Regions from separate parts of the Homo sapiens genome. Here region 2 is linked to region 1. Evidence: promoter capture Hi-C in 16 types of primary human blood cells and fetal thymus (Javierre and others, 2016). All regions are on one chromosome and are shown on one strand. The core of a region is centred on a gene start or on the middle of the fragment in contact, and the rest is flanking DNA. Distances in the headings are between cores, read along the strand shown. Region 1 holds the start of TXNDC11 (thioredoxin domain containing 11). Region 2 overlaps CLEC16A (C-type lectin domain containing 16A).

The links. Contacts are between HindIII fragments. The CHiCAGO score rates a contact against its expected background, and 5 or more counts as called.
Region 2: a contact is called between a fragment that was not itself captured here and the fragment with the promoter of TXNDC11 in region 1, in 1 of 17 cell types (fetal thymus). The highest score is 5.1, in fetal thymus.

What each region holds. Positions count from the first base shown.
Region 1 is chr16:11,740,971-11,744,463 of GRCh38, reverse strand. TXNDC11 (thioredoxin domain containing 11) reads left to right here and starts at 1,607. Exons shown (of 12, transcript NM_015914.7): 1 at 1,607-1,987. The coding sequence starts at 1,734. It overlaps TXNDC11-AS1 (TXNDC11 antisense RNA 1), which reads right to left and starts at 1,450. Exons shown (of 1, transcript NR_186412.1): 1 at 1-1,450. RefSeq lists silencers at 1,105-1,627, 1,490-2,159. The HindIII fragment of the contact is 4,507 bases long and covers 1-2,345 here.
Region 2 is chr16:11,097,511-11,101,003 of GRCh38, reverse strand. All of the region lies in intron 19 of CLEC16A (C-type lectin domain containing 16A), which reads right to left. Among named protein-coding and RNA genes, the nearest start is that of CLEC16A, 150 kb to the right of the region's middle. RefSeq lists an enhancer at 345-454. The HindIII fragment of the contact is 3,688 bases long and covers 1-3,493 here.

The DNA.
Region 1 (3,493 bases), core at 358-2,857:
ACTCTAATCTACACAAAGGAATCAACAGAAGTATAAGTGGCAAATTAGAAGGTTAAAAAAACTCTGTAACTATATATTTTTTCTCAGCTTTTTAAAACAAGATTAACACTGTATGGTTGGGTTTGTAACATAGATAATAAGGGTAATAATAACACAAAACAGAGATGAGGGACAAGTTAAAAATAAAGGAATTAATGTTATACGAGAAAATAGCTACTTTCTACAAAATAAGGCAGTATAGAAGAAACAAAAAGATGTGACAGGTGGGCGCAGTGACTCATGCTTTTACATAATCCTAACGCTTTGGGAGGTCGAAGGGGGAAGATCGCTTGAGCCCAGGAGTTCAAGACCAGCCTAGGCAACATGGAGAGACCTTGTCTCCACAAAAAAAAAAAATTAGCTGGGCGTAGTCGCACACATCTGTGTTGCCTACTACTTGGGAGGCTGACGGGGGTGGATCGCTTGAGCTGGGGTTGTCAAGGCTTCAGTGTGCTATGATTGCGCCATTGCACTCCAGCCTGGGTGACACAAGACCCTGTATCAAAAAACAACCAAAAAAAAAAAAAAAGTGACATATAGAAAAGAAATAGCAAAATGGTCGGTGTACATGAACTCACAACATGTTGGGCCTGGGTGGTTGACACATTAAATGTCTGGCCAATTGAGCAAGACAGCCATTGATTGCCCCATTCTACATCCACAGAAGCAGAACCAGACAGGAAGTGATGAGATTTGCACGTGGGTCACATAGCTGACCTGTGGCAGAGGTGGCGTCTCAGCTACTGGCCGTTAGCTGTGCCTTCTGTTTGTGGCATAACACCATATTGCCTTAATGCCCTCGAAGTTTTATTTGTCTAGTTTGTTGTTATTGACATTGGAGGACAAGTCCTTTTTTTTTTTTTGAGACAAGAGTCTCTCTCTCTCTCTCCCCCAGACGGGAGTGCAGTGGCGCCATCTCCACTCACTGCAACCTCCGCCTCCAGGGTTCAAGCAATTCTCTGCCTCAGCCTCCCAAGCAGCTAGGATTACAGGCGCCCGCCACCACGCCCGGCTAATATATTTGTATTTTTAGTAGAGACGAGGTTTCACCATGTTGGCCAGGCTGGTCTTGAACGCCTGGTCTCATGTAATCTGCCCGCCTTGGCCTCCCAACGTGCTGGGATTACAGGCTTGAGCCACCGCGCCCGGCCGTGTTTTTTTTTTCTTCAGTTAAGTTGGGATAAAAAACGGCACCTACGTGCTTCGGGGCCTGTAGTGAGAATGGTGGACACGATTATTGTCGTTACGGCTCCTAAAACCCAGCGCGGCGAGAGCAGACTACAGCGGTGTCAAGGTTCCAAGTATTCCCCGCGGGCCTTATCCCAAGGGAGCAGCTTCTCCACGCCCCGCGACGGCGCCTGCGCAGACTCCGTGAGCGGGGTCGTGACCGGTGGGGCCAAGACTGGGCTGCGGGCGGGGAAGGCTTCCGTGCATTTACGTAGGGTGCAGGGCGTGGCCCGTTGGGGGCGGGGATTTGGGCGGTGTCGGTGCCCGCCCGGACTCCGTGAGCGGTGGGCGGAGCTGCGTGCTCTGGGGTGTGAGGTGGGGCGGACCCCGCGGCGGCGGCGCGGCTGACGTGGAGCGTCCGGGTTAGCGGGTGCGGCGAGCTGCGGGATTGGGGAGCAACGGGCCGGGCCGGGCCTTCGGGCCCGAGGCGGCGGCGGCGGTATAAAGCCGGCGACTGGGAGCATGTAATGTCGGAATGCGGAGGCCGCGGCGGCGGCAGCAGCAGCAGCGAGGACGCCGAGGACGAGGGAGGGGGCGGCGGCGGCCCCGCGGGCTCAGACTGCCTCAGCTCGAGCCCGACCCTGGCCACAGCGTCCTCGGCGGGCCGGCTCCGTCGCGGGCTGCGTGGCGCCTTCCTCATGGCGCGCCAGCGGCCGGAGCTGCTCTGCGGGGCCGTGGCGCTCGGCTGCGCGCTGCTCCTCGCCCTCAAGTTCACCTGCAGGTGAGGCGGCCCGGACCCTGGGGCCCCGCTAGGGCGCTCCCCTTGCTCTGCCGCCTGGAGCCTGCAGGGCCGGGTCGCAGCGGCCTCAGCCGGGGAAGTCGGGCCTGACCTTGCCCAGGACGGCTGACCCCTCCCGGAACCTGCGGCCACGGCTTCCCACCTTCTCCTCGCCCCGGCCCGCCCGCGGACATTATGGCGAGGCTTCCGGGTGGAGCCCTGCGCCCTATCGTCCCGCTTTAGTGCCGAGGGAGGCGGGTCGGGGGTGCTCCTCACCTGTTGGAGTCACTAGGGGTGGACCTGTCACTTCGGCCCGGGCTGTAGGACCCTCATTTCTCACCGATTTCATTCCCCTTAAGCTTCAGGTGTAGTGATCCACAACCTTGCGAGAGTTCCAGACCCCTTTTAGAATTCCCGCACTCATTGATCTAACGATTATTTTTATTTTGAGACGGAGTCACGCATTGTGTCCCAGGCAGGAGTGCAGTGGCGCGATCTCGGCTCACTGAAACCTCCGCCTCCCGGGTTCAAGGGGTTCTTCTGCCTCAGCTCCTGAGTAGCTCGGATTACAGGCGCGCGCCACCACGCCTGGCTAATTTTTGTATTTTTAGTAGAGACAGAGTTTCACCACGTTGGCCAGGCTGGTCTCGAACTCCTGACCTCACGTGATCCACCCGTCTCGGCCTCCCAAAGTGCTGGGATTACAGGCGAGAGCCCCGCACCCGGCCTGATCTAACGATTATTTATCTGCACCTACTATGTGCCGGACGCTCGTCCGGGTGAACTTTTTGCTCCCTTGAGTGGATGGGACAGTGAACAAGTAAATATAATTTTTTAAAGCTTCAGTGCTATGCAGGGCATAGAAACGATGGCGGTGGGGAAAGACTTCCTAAGGAAGTGACATTTGAAGCTTATACAAAAAGGAGAAGGGACCAGCGCTGGGAAGATCCCGGGGGAGCGTGTCCACGGTAGAGCGAACAGCAAATGCAGAGTTTCTGAGGCTGGGCAAGCTTGGTGTTTCCCTGGAATTGATAAAAAGGCCTGACAGTAGGCTGGGGTGTAGGGGGTAGGAACATGAAAGTTCATGTGTGTCTTTTCAGGAATGTACACACATACAAAATTTGCTGTATATTTCAGGTGTACTTCTGGTCTCCCAAATCCACAGTGGGTCTTTTGGGATTCCAGTTTATAAGATCTGTATTGCTACTATGATATCTGTGATTTCACCTCGGAACATTTTTGAGTTTATTTAGCACGATATGTGGCCAGTTGTCAAAGAGGTGTCAAAAGATCGGGGATTTTAGTGGAAAGATAAATTATAATAACTCTCAGTGAGCATTTTCCATAGGCCAGGTACTGTCAGCAGGGTTTCTCCGTCTTGGCACTGTTGATATTTTGGGTCAGATAATTCTGTGTTGTGGGGGCTGCCCTGACTACTGTAGGATGTCTAGCAGCATCCCCGGCCTCTACCCACTAGATACCAGTAGCACACCCCACAAGATGTAACAA
Region 2 (3,493 bases), core at 440-2,939, 640 kb after region 1:
TAGGGCTGCAGGGCTGAAAATGAAGGTCTGGCCCTCACGCAGCCACAGTCTCAACAGACAGACCATAAAGCAGTAACTGAAAGAAATCTGTGAGTATAAACTGTACCAGCACAATGGAAAGGTATATTCAACCCGTTACAGACTTTGTTTAAAAGTTCATCTGCAAACCCTGCAAATAAACTCTTCAAAAGTTCCAGCCACTTGCAAACATATACCCATGCTAATTTCAGATACTAACAGTTACAGTGTAATATTTAATAAGCATCTGACACTGAGCTAAGCACTCAAAACCACCCAGCCCAGGCAGTACCATTATCTGCACATTACACATGAGAAAGCTGAGACCCTGAGAGGGTCAGTAACTGACTTGAGGTTGTGCTGCTAATGTTATCTTCCGGGAGGTCAATTCCCAGGACCCCAAGCAGGAAATGCCCAAGTGAGTCAGGTCCAAGTCCCTCCATGTGCTTGAAACCAAACCCCAATCTTGTAAAAAGATTCTCTGGGCCACACTAAGTTAGTGAAATCTGGACCAGAAGGGTAAACCACATTTGGCTGCCTGTGCTAAGAAAGAGATCAGCAGCTTTCACAGCAGGAGCAGGGGTGACTTCACTTTGGCCGGGCCGTGTGCATCACCGCCTTCAGCTGCTCTTGCTAATTTCTTGGCAGAGGAAATCCACCAGCAGGCGGAGAAAGGGAAAGGTGAAAGAGAGACAGGAGATTTTGGCAGGACCGTAGGAGGGCATGATAGGTGGTGAGAAAGCCCAGGCTCCAAATTGCTGAGTCCCCCGCAGTCTTACCTCCCTGTTAAGGAATGACTGGCTCTGAAACTCCTGCACCTTCTTCAGCTTGATGCACAGAGGCAAGTTCAGAGCTAGGAAGCCATGGATTGAATTTTTTTTAGGCAAAAGTTAAGAAAAGAGCTAGTCAGGCTGTCCAATAGTAAATAAGTGTGTCATAGGCAGAGCCACCGTGGTCAGACAGTTGGCAGGGGTGTAGAGCCTGTGTACCCAGTCAGCCGTGCCTCCAAACCCCAGGTGCAACTCTGGCTAGATAGGTAAGAATCACAATCCCCACTGTCTCTGCTTCCTGCCACATGCTGGACACTTAAACACAGCACAGGCTCTGGGCCTCTACTTTCCCATCTGTAAACAGGGGTGAAAACAGCACGTGGGTCCCAGGCAGGGAAGAATGAAAGCAGAGAGCAAGTGCCCAGTCCACACCTCTGTTACTGTTACCATCCTCACTTTGCCCCGTCCTCGCACCTGGGTGAGGAGGTAGCCACACAAATCTGGGCTTTCAGTTCCAGACGAGGACGCCTGGGCCCCAGCAGAGTTGACAGCATGCAGCCACACACTAGAAAGTGACGGAGCTGGGATCCTGAAAGACTCCAAACCCTTGCCTTTCTTGTTTCCTGATTTTACCCCACCTGCTAGACAGCGCTGCTGCCCAAAAGGACTTTCTGCATTGATGGAAATGTCCTACGACCATGCTGTCTAGTACAGAGCCACCACACATGTGGCTATTTGCATTTCAATTAAAATTAAATACAATTAAATATCCTTTTTCCGTTGTCTTGCTATCCACGACTGAGCACTTGAAATGTGGTGTGACAGTGGAACAGAAATGTTTAATTTTATTTAACCTTAATTTTCATTAATGTAGATTTAGACAGCCACAAGTGGCTACCGTGTTGGACAGCGAAGGGTTAGAGGGAAGAAAACGAGACCCTGTCCACTGTGTGGGACCGTGGGAAACAGCTCTGCTCCACGTCTGCCGATGAGCCGTGCATGAGAATGACCTGTCCTGGCAAACCCGGGTGGCATGAAGCAGCCTGGCCCAGGGCCTTGGAGCTCCCTGACCTGGAAGGAATGGGGCGCTCTGGCCACATGCACTCTTGGCTCACTCAGCCTGGGGGTTATGACTCCCATGCCTCACCTTAGCCGCCACGCTCTCTGCAGAGCACACAGAAAGCCCATTCCCACACAGCTGTCTCTCCGTGTCACAGAGCAAGTAGGTATGATCAATGGGCATGGGGTGCCACAGGTCTCACTGCTGGAAGGGATTCCTCATGGGTCACCTGCCTCCCTCCACCCTGGCCTCTGAGGATGAGCAGGGTCTGACCTGCTCACTGCCTGGGCATCTCTCTGTCCTGGCCCCCACATAGGACTGGGCCCAGTGGAGGGGTGGGAAAGGCTCTTGAACGAAGGAGTTGAAAAGTTACTCCCACACACAGCACTTGGGCGAGAATGTGCAGGCAACTGGAAAGGCTGAAGCTCACACACAGCGTCTTGGGAGAGATCCAGGGTTCCTCGAAGGGAGGCCCATTGGCAGCCTGGGGCACCCGGTACTGGGACAAAGTGCAGATTTTAGGACTCCAGCCCCACCAGGCTGGTTCTCAGGGTGCAGGGCCCTGGAGGGTCTATGGACAAGTGGTTTGGAGACTTGTCAGATCCCAAATACCATTATGGATGGCCACACTAACGCCCTCACGCTCAGCTCTTAGGAAGCCACAGCTGGGACCCCACGTCTCCTTACTGAAGAGGCTGACAGTTCTTGAAGGTGGAGGGGACTCAGCAGCAACACTAAACAGGCTGGGATGCAAATACCTGGTAGCAGTTTAGAAGAAAAGGCTACCTGCCACTTGGTCCCCTGTCCCTTTCTGCATCCTCGGCGTGCACAGGCACGCATTCTCAGTACACAGGCTCACATGGCCGTTCCTTGGAGATGGGGCTGAGCAGGATCTGACTTCTGTGTCTCCATCTTCTGGCTTTTCTGTTGAGGGGTGGGCACTGAGAACTCATTGTTTGCCACCATGCTAGTGCGTGCTGCAGAGGCCTCGGTTAATCCCTAGAGCGGTGGCTCCCAAACTCTACTGCATGTAGGATCACCTGGGATCACTGAAAACAGATGCTGGCTCCTGCCCCCAGACAGTCTGATTTAATTGGTGTGGGGTGTGACCTGGGCACCGGGCGCCTTAAAGCTCTCCAAGTGATTCTACCACACAGCCAAGTCTACATACCACTTGGCCTTGTGGCATCACTTGTGGGAGGCAGACCTCCCTACACCTGTCGCCCGTGGGCCAGCTGAGGAGACAAACCTGCCCAAGGTCATACCCTGAGCCAACACTGAAGTTGGTGGAGTCTGATCATAGGTTTGTGCTCCTGCTATTATAATGCAAGGAACTCACAGCCCATGGATAATTGAAAAACAAAGCAAAGCACAAAATCCTTTTCCTCATCACACTCTCAGACACTGGGGCAAGACGTTTCAGGCCATTCATAAAACAGACGTAAACCAATGGGGCCAAAAAGCTGCTGGATTTTTCACACACAGGGAAAGCTCACTGAAAAAACACCAGTAAATACGGAGGCTGTAATGCAACCCCAGGACTGATGGATTGCTCATAACATCCCCGGGAGTTAATTAGAACAGCCCTGAACTCAGTTCTGTGTCGGTGCTCCTTGCCATTAATGATTCAGGTAAAGAAGGAAGT